Linked DNA regions of Homo sapiens: region 2 is linked to region 1. Evidence: promoter capture Hi-C in 16 types of primary human blood cells and fetal thymus (Javierre and others, 2016). All regions are on one chromosome and are shown on one strand. The core of a region is centred on a gene start or on the middle of the fragment in contact, and the rest is flanking DNA. Distances in the headings are between cores, read along the strand shown.

Evidence for each region. The method cuts DNA at HindIII sites, captures the fragments that hold promoters and counts their contacts. A CHiCAGO score of 5 or more calls a contact.
Region 2: a contact is called between a fragment that was not itself captured here and the fragment with the promoter of TREML4 in region 1, in 6 of 17 cell types (activated CD4 T cells, M1 macrophages, non-activated CD4 T cells and 3 more). The highest score is 7.1, in activated CD4 T cells.

Annotation. Positions count from the first base shown.
Region 1 is chr6:41,223,169-41,229,734 of GRCh38, reverse strand. TREML4 (triggering receptor expressed on myeloid cells like 4) reads right to left here and starts at 1,386. Exons shown (of 6, transcript NM_198153.3): 1 at 1,245-1,386; 2 at 691-1,021; 3 at 164-214. The coding sequence starts at 1,307. It overlaps LOC105375055 (a long non-coding RNA gene), which reads right to left. Exons shown (of 3, transcript XR_926794.3): 3 at 3,907-5,822. RefSeq lists an enhancer at 6,413-6,566. The HindIII fragment of the contact is 15,987 bases long and covers 1-5,916 here.
Region 2 is chr6:41,549,842-41,556,407 of GRCh38, reverse strand. All of the region lies in intron 1 of FOXP4 (forkhead box P4), which reads right to left. Among named protein-coding and RNA genes, the nearest start is that of FOXP4-AS1, 4.5 kb to the right of the region's middle. RefSeq lists enhancers at 469-922, 277-1,277. The HindIII fragment of the contact is 5,218 bases long and covers 543-5,760 here.

The DNA.
Region 1 (6,566 bases), core at 137-2,636:
TCCCTAAGAGACAGTGGGCCCTGAAGGTAGCTTCCCACAAGCCCAGGCCCCAAGAGATCAGTCCTCAGAGGCAGGCCTCCCTGGTTTCCCCTTCCCTGAATCTGAGGCTCCCAAGCTGCCTGGTGACCCTTCTAATCTTCCCCCACCGAGGCCTCCAACCTACCTGTGCTTGTTGGGAGCCAGGGAAGAGTCCACATAGGAGACGTGGTTGGGGCTAAAGAGAAAAGACAGCAGACAATGACTCTCCAGGGGCCCAGAAGAGAGTAGGGTCTACCCCATACATAAGAGGAGGTAGGGGCCCAGAGCCAGACCCTCAGGATGTCTTAAGCCAGGAGTGGTCTGTGCCTAAGATCTGCATGACAGAGTTGTTGGTGTGTGTGTGTTAGTGTGTGTGTGAAAAGAAGAGTTGTGGGTGTGCCTGTGTAAGACAAAGAGAGACGCAGAGTGACAGACAGACTGTGTCTCTGTCCAGGGACCTCTGAGGGTACCTTCCCAACAATTGAGGCCAGGATGTACCGGGTGGAGGAGAGGTGAGAGTCCATGTTTGGGGACAGGATCTTTGCTCCCCTTGGACCACAGCAGAATACCTGGCAGGATGGGGGATGATAGAGGCATGGGAGGGGGTGCATGACATTTCCTTCAGGTCCCTGGGGGGTGGCACAGAGGTATTTCCTCAAGAAAAGAGCTCACCTGGAGACACCACCAGGCTGATATTTCTAAGAACAGTGATGATGTTTTCGGAAGCGTTGTAGATTCCACACCAGTAGAATCCCGAGTCATTCTGTGTCAGCTGAATCATGGTGATGTTGAAGAAGCCAGCATTGGGCTTGTCCCAGATTGTGTAATGAGACTTCTGAACTGCTGTCCAGGGCTTGGAGCTGGTGACAAGTAAGGTACACCGACTTGGAGATGTCTGCTGACACCAGGATTTGGGCTGATAGGGCCCTCTCTTGGGTGAGTACTGGCATTGCAGGAGGAGGGTCTGTCCTGGGTGTTTGTGAAGTTCTTCAGGCACAGCACCCTTTACCCAGGAACCGGCAGAAAGAAACCCAGGTCAGAGCTCTGAAGGGACCCAACCTCCCCCATCACAGGCTGGGGAAGGGGAGGGGGAACTAGTTCTGATGCCCACACATGGAAGAGGGCCCCTAAATTCTGTCCTATGGTCACACAGCCATGCTGCTCCCTGCCCCACTCATTCTTCATCCCACTCCTTACACCCCCTGCACTCTTTCCCTCCATGTCACCTGAGGCCAGGAGCAGCAGCAGCACAGGTGGAAGCAGCAGGTGTGGACCCCACCCCAGGCCATTCCAGCCCAGATCTGTTTCTGACAGCGGAGGAGAGGAGAAAAAAGGGAGCCCTCTCAGGAGGAGTCAGACGCTGGGTCTGATTCTGCCCCAGGTTCCCAGTGTCTCTCAGCTGGTAAAATTGAGGAAGTCAATGTCTTGCTGGGGAAATGGTCGGCCTGGGAGGGCGGGCTCTGCAGACCAGGGGAGGAGGGGCAGCCAGGCCTTGAAAGGGGCCACCAGCTACAGGGTCTGTCTCTGGGCCTGGGCACCTCAGCCCTGCTGTGTTGCTCTGCCGCCTTTCACTGAACTTCTCCCCATGTCTGCTGCTTTATGCCTTCCAGCCAGTCATACTGCTCCTCTATTGCTAGGGGCAGCTCTCAGCATGGCCAAGAATAAAGCTGGTGAATAAAGCTGGGGTCATCCCTCTTTCCTTCTCTCTGTGCACTTCCTATAGGTGGTCAGGGCCCTTGGAGGCACGACCAGACCCCTGAATCCTTCTGGTCTAGCCATGGTGGGTTGATGATGAGTTTTGACCCTGAGACATTTTGTAGAGGGCAGATTTTAATCCCAGGAATTACAAGATGTTCCCTGGAAATGGTGGGGCCAGGAAAGCAGGGAGGAAAGAGAGTGCTGGTCAGGGAAAGTTGGAGGGGAAGGCAGGTAGGAGTGGATCAGTTATGGTAGCTTGGGATCATCTCAATCAGTGCTTGTTGGATGAATACATCAGTGGATGAAAGAACAACGCGTGTGTAAAATGTACAGAAAAAGAAAATGGCCGAAGTGAGAACTATCTAGCAACAAAACCAAGTGGTACTGGATTACTACCCAATGTATATATTAAATCTCTAGGAGTCCATGCTGATGTAAGTAAATGACTGAATAAAGAACTGGGGGGGGGAATAGACAAATATCCCATGCATAAGGATTCTGCTGTGTTCAGAATGTTGTTCCCCCATCTCATATATTCAAACTTAATTTCCATGTGATAGCGTTAAGAGGTGGGATCTTGTGGGAAAATCTTAAGTCATGAGGGCGTCATCCTCAAGAATGCAATTAATGCCCTTATACCAGAGATTGCAGGAAGCAGATTTGCGCTGTCTGCCATATGAGGACAGTGTTCATGCCTTCAGTCAACTGAGGTTACTGCAAGAAAGCACCACCTTGGAAGCAGAGAGCAGCCCTCAGCAGATACCACATCCACTGACACCTTGATCTTTGACTTCCCAGACTCCAGAACTTTGAGAAAGAGATTTCTATTATTTAGAAAGTCTCCAGTCTAAGGCATCTTCTCATAGCAGCCTGAAGGGACTGAGAGAGATTGCAAACAATTCTTATAGGTATTCTGCCCTCAAGGCAGAAGCATAAATTCCCACGGCTTAAGCATGGGCTGTGCAGGTGACTTTCCTCCAGAGGATAGCATGGGAAGGAAGAGAAGAGTAACTGTACAGTGGAGAAACCTGACACTTACTGTGGCAGCCAGGCAACCAAAGTGCAGACCCACAGGGATAACTCAGGTTGTTAGAATGTGTCATTGACTTGATGTGATGACAGGGCAATTAGCTGTGCAGTCTCCTTCCCCAAAGCCGCTGGCCCCAGGAGAAAAACATCAAACAAATTCCACATGAGGGACATTCTACAAAATACCTGAGCAGCGTTCCTCAAAACTGTCAAGGCCATCAAAACTAAGAAATAATTCTCAGAAACTGCTATGAATAAGAGGAGCCTAAGCAGACATGAAGACTAAAAGCAATGTGGCTTCCTAGGTGGGATCCTGGAGCACAGAAAGTACATGAGGTAAAAGCCAGGGTAATCTGAATGAAGTAAGGACTTCAATTAATAAAATCTACCACAGAAACAGAGTAGAATGGCATTACCAGAGGCTGGGAATTGGACAAACTGGGTAGGTATTGTTGAAGAAACACAATATGTTAGACAGAAAAAATAAGTTCAAGAGATCTATTGCACAGTATGGTGAGTGCAGTTCATAACTATGAATTGTACAATTGAAAATGACAGAAAATAGATTTTAAATGTTCTCACCACAAAACAAGTAAGTATATGTGGTATTGCTTGATTTAGTAATTTCACAGTTAATACACACATCAAACTATCCTACCACGCATTATAAATATATGAGTTCTACTCATCAATTTTGTAAAATTATAGTAATGTATCAATATCAACTCATTAATTGTGAGAAATGTAGCATACTATTGGACTATATTAATAATAGAAGACATTGAACATAGCACATCAGGGAAGTATGCAATACCTACACAACTCTTCTGTGAATCTGAAAGCATTCTAAGTGTAAAAGATTAGTTTTAATATGTATAGAAACGATTTACACAAAGCATATGAATAATCACTTGATACATAACAAACAGCGTGTACATAACAAACAGCAAAGTTTTAAGAAATCTTAGTACGGCTAGGTGTAAAGCACCTACTAACACTTGATGGTAATAAGAGTCATTTTCTTAAACACACTGAAGTTTCTAAGAAAAGTATGATAAATTCTGGAAGAGGAAAATAGGAATTTATTCTCTGCATCTGTATCATTTGATGCCTTCAGTGTGATATGTCACACATAGTGTCCGATGTACTGATTGCTGTAAATGAAAATTTGTTACTATAACGTTTATACTACAGAATAGGGTTTATTTGGTGTAACAAGGCAAATACTATATTTTTACAAATAGCGTTTATTTGACATAACAAAGCAAATACTATATGTTTATTTTTCACTTAGTCATATTTGACTTTCATTGACAGCAAAAGAAACAACAAAACTTATAAATTTTAACTATTGTGATCTCAGTTTTGGCTGAGAGTATTCAGGTAGACACTGTGAACTCACTATATATTCATTGCCACCTCTTTCTTTCTTCCCTTCCTTCCTTCCTTCCTTCCTTCTTTCCTTCTCTCTCTTTTTCTTTCTCCTTCCTTCCTTCCTTCTTTTTTCTTTTCTTTTCTTTCTTTCTTTCTTTCTTTTTTCTTCTTCTGTCTCTCTTTTTCTTTTCTTGAGATGGAGTTTTACACTTTCGCCCAGGTTGCAGTGCAGTGGTGTGATCATGGCTCATTGCAGCCTTGACCTCCCAGGGCTCAAGTGATCCTCCCACCTCAGCCTCCTGAGTAGCTGGGAGTGTGGGCACACACCAATGCACCTTGTTATTATTATTATTATTGCTTTTCATAGAGACAACGTTTCACCATGTTGGCCAGGCTTGTCTTGAACTCCTGGACTCAAGAGATCCACCCAGCTTAGCCTCCCAGAGTGCTAGAATTACAGGTGTGAGCCACTATGAGTGGCTGCCACCTCTTTTTCATGGGTCTTTCTATAGTAAAAGGTCTACAAGATCATTTCTGATTCCTTTGCAGCTAGGGTTCCAGATATATTTTAGGTCCCACCCATTCAATGTATTTGTATGAGACTTAAATGAGGAAGTGAGCTAGAATGGGAAGAGAGGCATCCATTGTGCCGGTAGACTATGGGTGAGATGGAGGGGTTCTTTAGCCAGGGCTGTGATGGCAGCTTCCAGATTTGGAAAGTTGCCTGATTTGGAAAGGGTGTTGACTGTGGCAAAGGCAGTGGTCCCTTAGTAGCCCATCCTGTGGCTTTAAGAGTGATGCCCAGAAATTACATAGGATCTGATTCTGTAAAGCATTTAATGTTTGATTTTAAAAATCTCTTTCTCCTTAAAATCCGTAGCTTGGATTTTGTAGTTTGCAGCTAAATCTTGACTAATGCAAGTCCCAAGAAAATATATGCTATCTGTCAGAGTGAGGTGGGAGGCCAGTGTGAAGCACATGCCAAAAGGTATTGAAACCTTCTTTGAGGAATGAATCCCTCACACACATCAAGGGTAGAAAGTTGTGAGGAGTGTGAAGATTGGGAGAGGACTTTTGGAGACAGCTGGTAGTTGTGCTGTGACCCTGGGGGAGGAGAGGGTTAGATTCCTGCATCTTATCTCAAACCTAGGGAGAGGCTTGAGATAGGGTCACAACTTGGAAAGATGGTTGTGGCCCCTGCAGTCTGGGAGATGTAGCAGCTGAGTTGGATTCAGTCTGAGAGCTGTATTGGGTAGAGACAGCAGGCGGCAAGCTGTCCTGATGGTGGAATGGAGGAGAGGTGACCTTGTGGGGGCCCCCAGGCTCCATGACTTTGTTGGGGTGAAGGAAGTGGATGGCTTCCGTGGGCCAGATGTTGGGCTGCACAGATGTGAGGCACCCAGCATGGGTGGTTGTAGATCCCACCCAAAAGGCCTGCTGGAGGTGGAGGGACGCATGGCAGGAAGCTGGAAGTGGACTGCGAAAGGCTTGGAGGCTGAAGGAGATGTCAGGAGCACCCACCAGGAAGGAGATCCAAGGCTACATGAGGAAGCTGCAGGTGACAGGCAGGGTGTCATCGGAAGAGCCCACAACGGTGCCCTCTGAGAAACCTCAGCTTGAACTCTTTGGGTCATCACCAGACTTTCCTGACCCTTCCTCTTCTCCTCTCCATGCTCCAGGCCTGGAGGCTTCCCAAACTGCAGCTGGAGGGCAGAGAAGACCAAGTAAAGAAAGGAAAGCCAACGTGGGCCCTCTGCCCTCTGAGGGTTAAAATTCCGAGGCTTTGGGGAAGAAGCTTTATTTTACATGGAGCCCTTTTTCCTCCACACTAATCACTGAACTGAAGCCAGTTTTGGAATAACCTTTTCCCTATTTATAAACAGAGGGGATGAACGAGGGAGCACAGGGGATTTGGAGGGCAGTGGGGCAACTGTGTGATCCCACAATGATGAGTTGATGTCATCACACGTCTGTCAAAGCACAGACAGCGCGTGCTCAGCAGCAAAAGTGAGCCCTCAGGACGGTTGTGTGCTTGATGACAGGACAGGGTGCCTCAATGTAGGGTAGCCGGCTGTAACAGCCGGACCCCTGGGCAGGATGTGGATAGTGGGGGGCTGTGCATGTGAGGAGCAGGAGGTATACGGGAACTCTATGTACTTTCTCTCATTGTTTTGAGAACCTAAACTGCTCTAAAAACAAGTTGATTACTTAAACTCCCCAGAAGAGGTATGTGTCTCGGTGCGGGGTCTGCCCAAGGGCCAGAGACATCCCAGCAGAGGGAGTGAGGAAGGCAGTGGGAAATGGATGTCAGGCCCTCTCGAGTTACACCTTGTGAGTCCCAATTGCTCTATTTAATGCCCAGACCGATGGCCGTCACTGTGATTTCTGAGGACCACCCTCATGTCTCCCTCTTGGGGTTGGGGGACTAAGCAGTGAGCTCAGGGAGG
Region 2 (6,566 bases), core at 1,902-4,401, 320 kb before region 1:
AGCTTGCAGTGAGCCAAGATGACGCCACTGCACTCCAGCCTGGGCAACAGAGCGAGACTCCATTTCAAAAAAAAAAAAAAAACATTCACAGAGTCCCCAAGAGTGCTTTCCTATAGCCCCTCCCTCCTCTCTCCCCCATGCAATTTTGCGCTCATTTTGACAGAGGATGGAACCACACTTCAAAGATGCCAAAGACTTGACAAGGTTACCTGACTGCTAAGTGACTGAGCCAAACTGAAACCAGGTGGCTCTCCTGACTCCTAAACCAGTGCTCCTCCCCGCGTCCTAACTCCCCGAGTCACTCTGGAATCCAAGCCTTCCCTTACCCCTACCACCACCCTCCACCTTACCTTTTACTGGCTCCATCCCTGAAACGCTCCCACAGGCCCTGGCAAGGTGGCCTCCCTCAATACCCCTTCCTACTACACAGACCAAAAAAAAGAATTAACAATACAGGGGGAAAAAAAGAAAGAGAACCAAAGATCCCACTCCATCTCATTAAGAAAGTAAACATAAGAGCCATCTAAGTGTCTAATTAAGCTTCTAATTAGTCCCTGCTTGTTACTAATGCAAATTAGATTACTCCGCTTAACTACAGCATGTCCACAACACCCTTGTTAATTGCGGCCTTTTGAAATTAAATTACTCCCTAATTAGCATATCAAAGCCATTGATTCGGAGCTGGGAAAGATGAGGGCAAGAGGAGCCGAATGCCAAGTTTGGTTAATCAGAGACGGCTAATTAAATAGTGACGTCTTATGTGGGGGGCCTGCTGGTTAAGGGGTAGGGGCAATTCGCCCAGGGCCTGAATGGCCATCTGGAGCCTGGTTCTGGTGGTGCCTTTGGCACCAGGGTTTCCTTTGGGCACAGGAGGGGCTCTAGAGGGCCTGGGACAAACCACTGAGTATGGCCATTTCTGGGCCCCTGGCTGTTCTGCCCAGCCTGCCCCGACATGCCTTGGCCCCTCCCTTCATTTCCTCAGATGTAGGGGGCAAGTGATGACTTTATCATAGAGGGGCTCACCCTGGCAGGGATGCGCTGATTTCATCTTGAAACAGGCCCCCGGAGACACAAGGCCTTATGGTACAAAGACCTAACCTCTGTGGTAGAAAGAAGGCAAAAAGAATCACCCACAACCATCAGTTCTTTTTTTTTTTGAGACAGGGTCTCACTCTGTGTCGCTCAGACTGGAGTGCAGTAGCGCGATCTCGGCTCACTCACTGCAACCTTTCCTCCTTGGCTTAAGTGATCCTCTGGTCTCAGCCTCCCGAGTAGCTGGGACTACAGTCACATGCCACCACACCCTAATTTTTGTATTTTTTGTAGAGAGGGGGTTTCACCATATTGCCCAGGCTGGTCTCAAACTGAGCTCAACTGATCCTCCCACTTTGGCCTCCCAAGTGCTGGGATTACAGGCATGAGCCACTGCGCCCATCCCACCATCAGTTATTAAGTAGCTGTGTGGGAATTAGATTTGGGTCAGGGTGTCCTTATAGGTCCTCTCTCTGAGATCTTCTTGTACAGACCCTGCAGTCTTTTTTTTTTTTGGAGGCAGAGTCTCATTCTGTCGCCCAGGCTAGAGTGCAGTGGCACAATCTCGGCTCACTGCAACCTCCGCCTCCCGGGTTCAAGCAATTCTCCTGCCTCAGCCTCCTGAGTAGCTGGGACTACAGGTGCCTGCCACCACGCCCGGCTAACTTTTGTATTTTTAGTAGAGATGGGGTTTCGCCATGTTGGCCAGGATGGTCTTGAACCACTGACCTCAGGTGATTCACCTGCCTTGGCCTCCCAAAGTGCTGGGACTACAGGCATGAGCCACTGTGCCTGGCTAGACCCTGCAGAGTCCTTCAGACACTGTCCCACACTAGATTCTCCTTGAGGAATACTGGGGACAGGTGAATCTCCATGTCAAAGCTGCTAACCAAAATGCCTTCAGGGGCTAGGCTGGTCACTTAGGAGGCCAGGTGAGGAGGGCACGAGGAGGCAGCTGCCACTCAATCCCAGTCCATCCTTTCCACACAGAAATGCAGGCTCAGTGTTGACAGGGCTTGGGTTTTTCAAAAGGAGCAGAAGTGGGGATATTTATGTGAAATTTACCATTGTAATGAACTGTGTGTGGGTCAACAAAACTCAGCAGGGATGAAGTTAGTCCACTTGTGACCTCAGCCCTTATGGCCAGCATTTCAGAAAGGCAAGTTCCAGTTAACTGTGACTCGGGGCAAGTCAGGTAACCTCTCTGGGCCTGGGTACTTCACCTATCAAATGAGAGTGATAATTACCACTGCCTGGAGAATCTTTCAGGGTTGTTGTGGGGATAAGAACAAGGAGGTATGTGAAACGGCAAAGCACAGTTCCTCAGTCAGGGCCTGGTGACTACCTAGCTCTACCTGCCACAACAACCTCCCAGGTTTCCTAATAGGGATGTCCTATTAGAACTTCCTTCCCCCATCTTCCATGCAGGGGGCAGAGCAAGGGCTTCCAAGTGTCCTTGAAAATGCTGAGGGCTTGTTCCTGCAGATATCTGACCTGACTGTTGGGAGGCTTGGAGGTACCACACACCTATGCCCTCTGCCCTGTGTTTTAATGGATCAGTTCTGGCAGGGGCAGCAGCTTCTGAATGACAAAATCCTGAGGGTTAAAAGGTCCCTAGCTTGGTCCTTCTCTACCTCCTCTGTCCCCAACTAGGGTGCAGTCTGTTCCCAGCTCTTCCTCCCTCCCCTAGTCCTCCTAAGTTTCTCACCAGAAGCCCCTGGAGCACACAGGATCACGGCCAAATTCCCAAAGGGTGAGATTCTGTTTACTTAAGGAGAGATCAGACAGGGTCCAGGGGAGGGGAAGTCCTCCTGCCCCCACCTCTGAAAGGGCAAATCCCAGCCAGTACCCAGTCCATGGGTATCCATCCAAGCCAAACTGGGCAAAGGGGCACAGAGCAGTGGTTTTATTTTAGAAAATAAGTGCAATTAAAAGAAAGGCAGAAAAAAAGGAATGGGGGAGGAGAAGGCTGCCCTGGTGTGAGGGGGAGGGGGGATGGCGGCACACAAGGGCCAAGCTGAAGCTCGCCTCACCTCGCGGAGCTCTCTCTCCCAACGAGATTCAATTAATTGATAACATGAGGCATCAAATTAATTTCTGGAGAATGTGAGATTCTGATGAAGGGAAATCTCGTCGATGGGGATCGGGTGGGAGGGGGCAGGCAGCACCCCTTTTAATCAGGCTCCACTGCCTAATTGGGAAGGAGGAGACTTGCATGGGTCATAGTGTCCTCTGCCCCGAGCTCCACAGCACCCCTTTCAAGAAGGACCCATGGAAGTAGGCTCCCGATGCCCTTGGAACAAAGAGGGTGTACGTTGAGACCTTCAGGTCTCTTCTTGCCTGGCTCCCAACCCACAGCTTCAGGATGGTGAGCCCGAGGATGTGGGGCTGCAGGTGTCCTCTTCACCCACTGTACAGTTAGGAAAACTGAGGCCCAGAGAGAAGACGGGTCATGCCTAAGGCCGAAGAGTGAGTTAGGAAGTTGGCAGCAGTGGGCTTACCGGGGACCCTCATCATGTACCCGTGTGGGTACAGACTGTTTAGGCCTAGACCCACAAAATCATCTCTGAGCACAATCGGTGGGCAGCTTTCTCTGTGGCTAAACACTGCCATGCTGCCTGAGCCGTCCCCTCTTCCAGTGTTTCCGGATCCCCAGCTGCCGGCCCGAGCTAGCCCAGCTGCAGTTCTTTTCTCTGCGTCTGGTGAGTGCCGAAAACCCCTTGTGTTATATCCCTGTGCTCAGGTCTCAGACATGCAGGAGCTTCCAGCAACTGGAACTGATGCGCTCAGTTAAAAAGGTAAAAACTCACTGAGGGAACAATCCAAAGCGAGCGCTCAGCTGGGGAGGGGAAACAGGTAGCTCTGGCTCTCTGGGAAAGAAAGCTCAGAGGCTTCCTGAAGGAGGGATTCTCTCAGTGGACCAACTCTACACCCTCAGCATGGCCTGACCATCCAGCTTCTCCAGCTCCCATCCAGAGACGCAGCCTCAAAAAGCCTGGCGCTTTGCTCCCTGAGTGCTTACAGCCGCAGCCTCTCGCTGGGTCTCCCACAAATCCTGATGTTTCATATCTCCCCAAAACTCTCCCTAGTGTACCCCTTCCTTCCAGGATGCGGATGTGCATCTGCAGGGGAACCCCAAAGGAAAGGAGGAAGTACACCGCCACCCTCTTTTGAAGCAACTTCTTTAGGCCTGGGTCTCCATAGAAATGTTCTCCTAGAAACGTAAAGCCAGCCGGGAATGGAATCCAAGGAAGCCCCGCTGAGGAGATGAGAACGGAAGCTACCCCAACCTCCCACCCCCTGGTTTCATTTCACACGGGGAGGCCCTCCTAAGGGCTCTCTGGGTGGCACACATGTCCTGTCTCAGCTGGGGGTTTCAGGACCCACGCTGGCTCAGGTGGCCAGTGCCCACAGATCTGTGCTCCGGCCCTTGTTCTATTTCTGATTTTCCAAGTTGCATGTGAGCCACCCCTTCTCCGGGTCCCTCCTGCTGCCCTTCACCAGCCTGGCCTCCAGCACACAGTAGGCGCTCCACAGTGTGTTCGTAGGATGGATACAACTACTGAGTCCCTGGCTCCATTCCCTAAGCCACCCTACCTTCAAGTCGCCATCATTTTGCCACCCCTTTGCTGCTACTTGAGTAACTTCTGCTCCCACCAGTCCTGCCTACCTTGAACAAATGCCGGATGGTCTCTATTCTACATACTGTTAGTCTGAGGAAAACCCACTATGTCGCCCCATTTTCCATTTACATGGTAGCCTGGGTCACAGACCATCAGAACTGCAGCAGGAAAGGAAACACCATTTACCTCTATCTTGCACTATCAACTGGCTCCACCCACCATCAGGCCTGGCTGTGGAGGCTCCAGTTGGCCAGAGCATGGGGCCCAGGGAGGTGGGCAGAGCAGCTGGGATTCAGGGAACAGGCGGCTGTATGGCTACCATCCAGACAGGAGAGAAGGAAGGTGCAGGGCTGTGCCAGAGGGACAGCCGGGAAAAGACCCTGATCTCAAGAGGGATCCTGGGACCAGGATCAAGGCAAGGAGGGCATTCGCCAGGCCCAGGCATGTCCAGCCCGGGCGACACACCACAGCAACAGTGACTCCACGGTCCAACACCTGCGGCCCTGTCCAGATGTGTACCTTTTGTGCCAGGAGCTCTTGTTTTCTAGATCAGGCAGGTGTGCCCTGCGTCCAGGCTCTGCAAGGGCCCAGGAGCAACATCTCACAAGACCACAGCATCCAAAGTGGCAGAATTCAGAGGAAAGAGGGTTCCCGCTGTGATCCCGGCTTGGTGGAACTGGCAGTGGACTGAAGGTGTGTATTTCCACAGAGAATCCTGGGAGGCAACGCTGAAGGGAGCCAATAACTTCAGGCTCAAGGGGAGTTTCCTTTTGCTTCTTTGAGATGATCCATTCAGTGATAGGTCCCAAACTGGTCTGAGACTTGCTGCCAAAATCTTCCATAAGGACGTGTAGGCTAGGGTTTCCAAACCCTAGAAATCTCCCTTTCTGGAGAGAGGGGTTATCAGTCATTTTTCCTCCTCTGCATTCTGGGGAATTCTCTCTCCCATTTATGTGTGTCTCACAAGAACCTTAGGAGTGCCTGGGGAATGCTCCAGGGTTGTGTGCAGGTGGAAACACCAGATTCTGCACCTACAGTCCCCCTCTCCACTTAAAGGGAAAAGAGAAAGTATTCACACTAGAAGGCAGGCGGCCTAGGCCAAGCTTATGGAGGAAGGAGGGAGGAATGGCAGCTCCTCCCATCCCTTCCTTTCTCCCTTCACCACAGCACACGCTCAAGCCCTACTGGTTATACTGGGAGTCGAGGGCCCCATATTTTAGTTCCAGCTGTGCTACCATGTAGCTGTGTAACCTTGGACAAGTTGCCTCTTCTCTCTGGACTTCGTTTTCCCAACCCATAAAATGAAGATTAATACTTCAGTATTTCCATATTCAACCAACATGTGGCCTGGCAGTGCTAGCAAATTAATAATAAACGCCATCCCTTGATCAGTACTACCATGCACCCGGCACCGTGCAAGGTACTTGACATCTGCTCTCTCATCTAACTCCCAAACAGAATCTCTAAGGTGGGTATTATGACCTACTTTACAATGTAAGAAAATTGAGGTTCGAAGAGCTTAATTAAGTTCTCCAGAGTCCCATCTCTAATGCCAAGTTCCAAAGCCTTTTCCACTCTGACACATGTTCTGCCCTGGGGAGGCCTCAGTTCCTTGCTCTGGGTTCCAGAGTTCTGGAACCAAATCTGAGGAGGTCATTCCAGCCAACGGAGCCTGAGAGTCCTGTCAAAAATAGTACCTGCCCTGCCTTGGTCTAGGGAAGCTGGAGCGTGGTAAGATCTGTGAGAAGGGAAACTGTGAGGAGTTTCTTGGATGGAAGAAATTATTATTTCACACAGTTTAGGCTATTCAAAAAATAAAGACATTGTGCCTGCTTAGGATGGGACTGGGGGGCTTGCACTGTGGCTGGAGAGACAGGAAACCGCCAAGGCAGTGGGGTAGGAAGGGTTAAG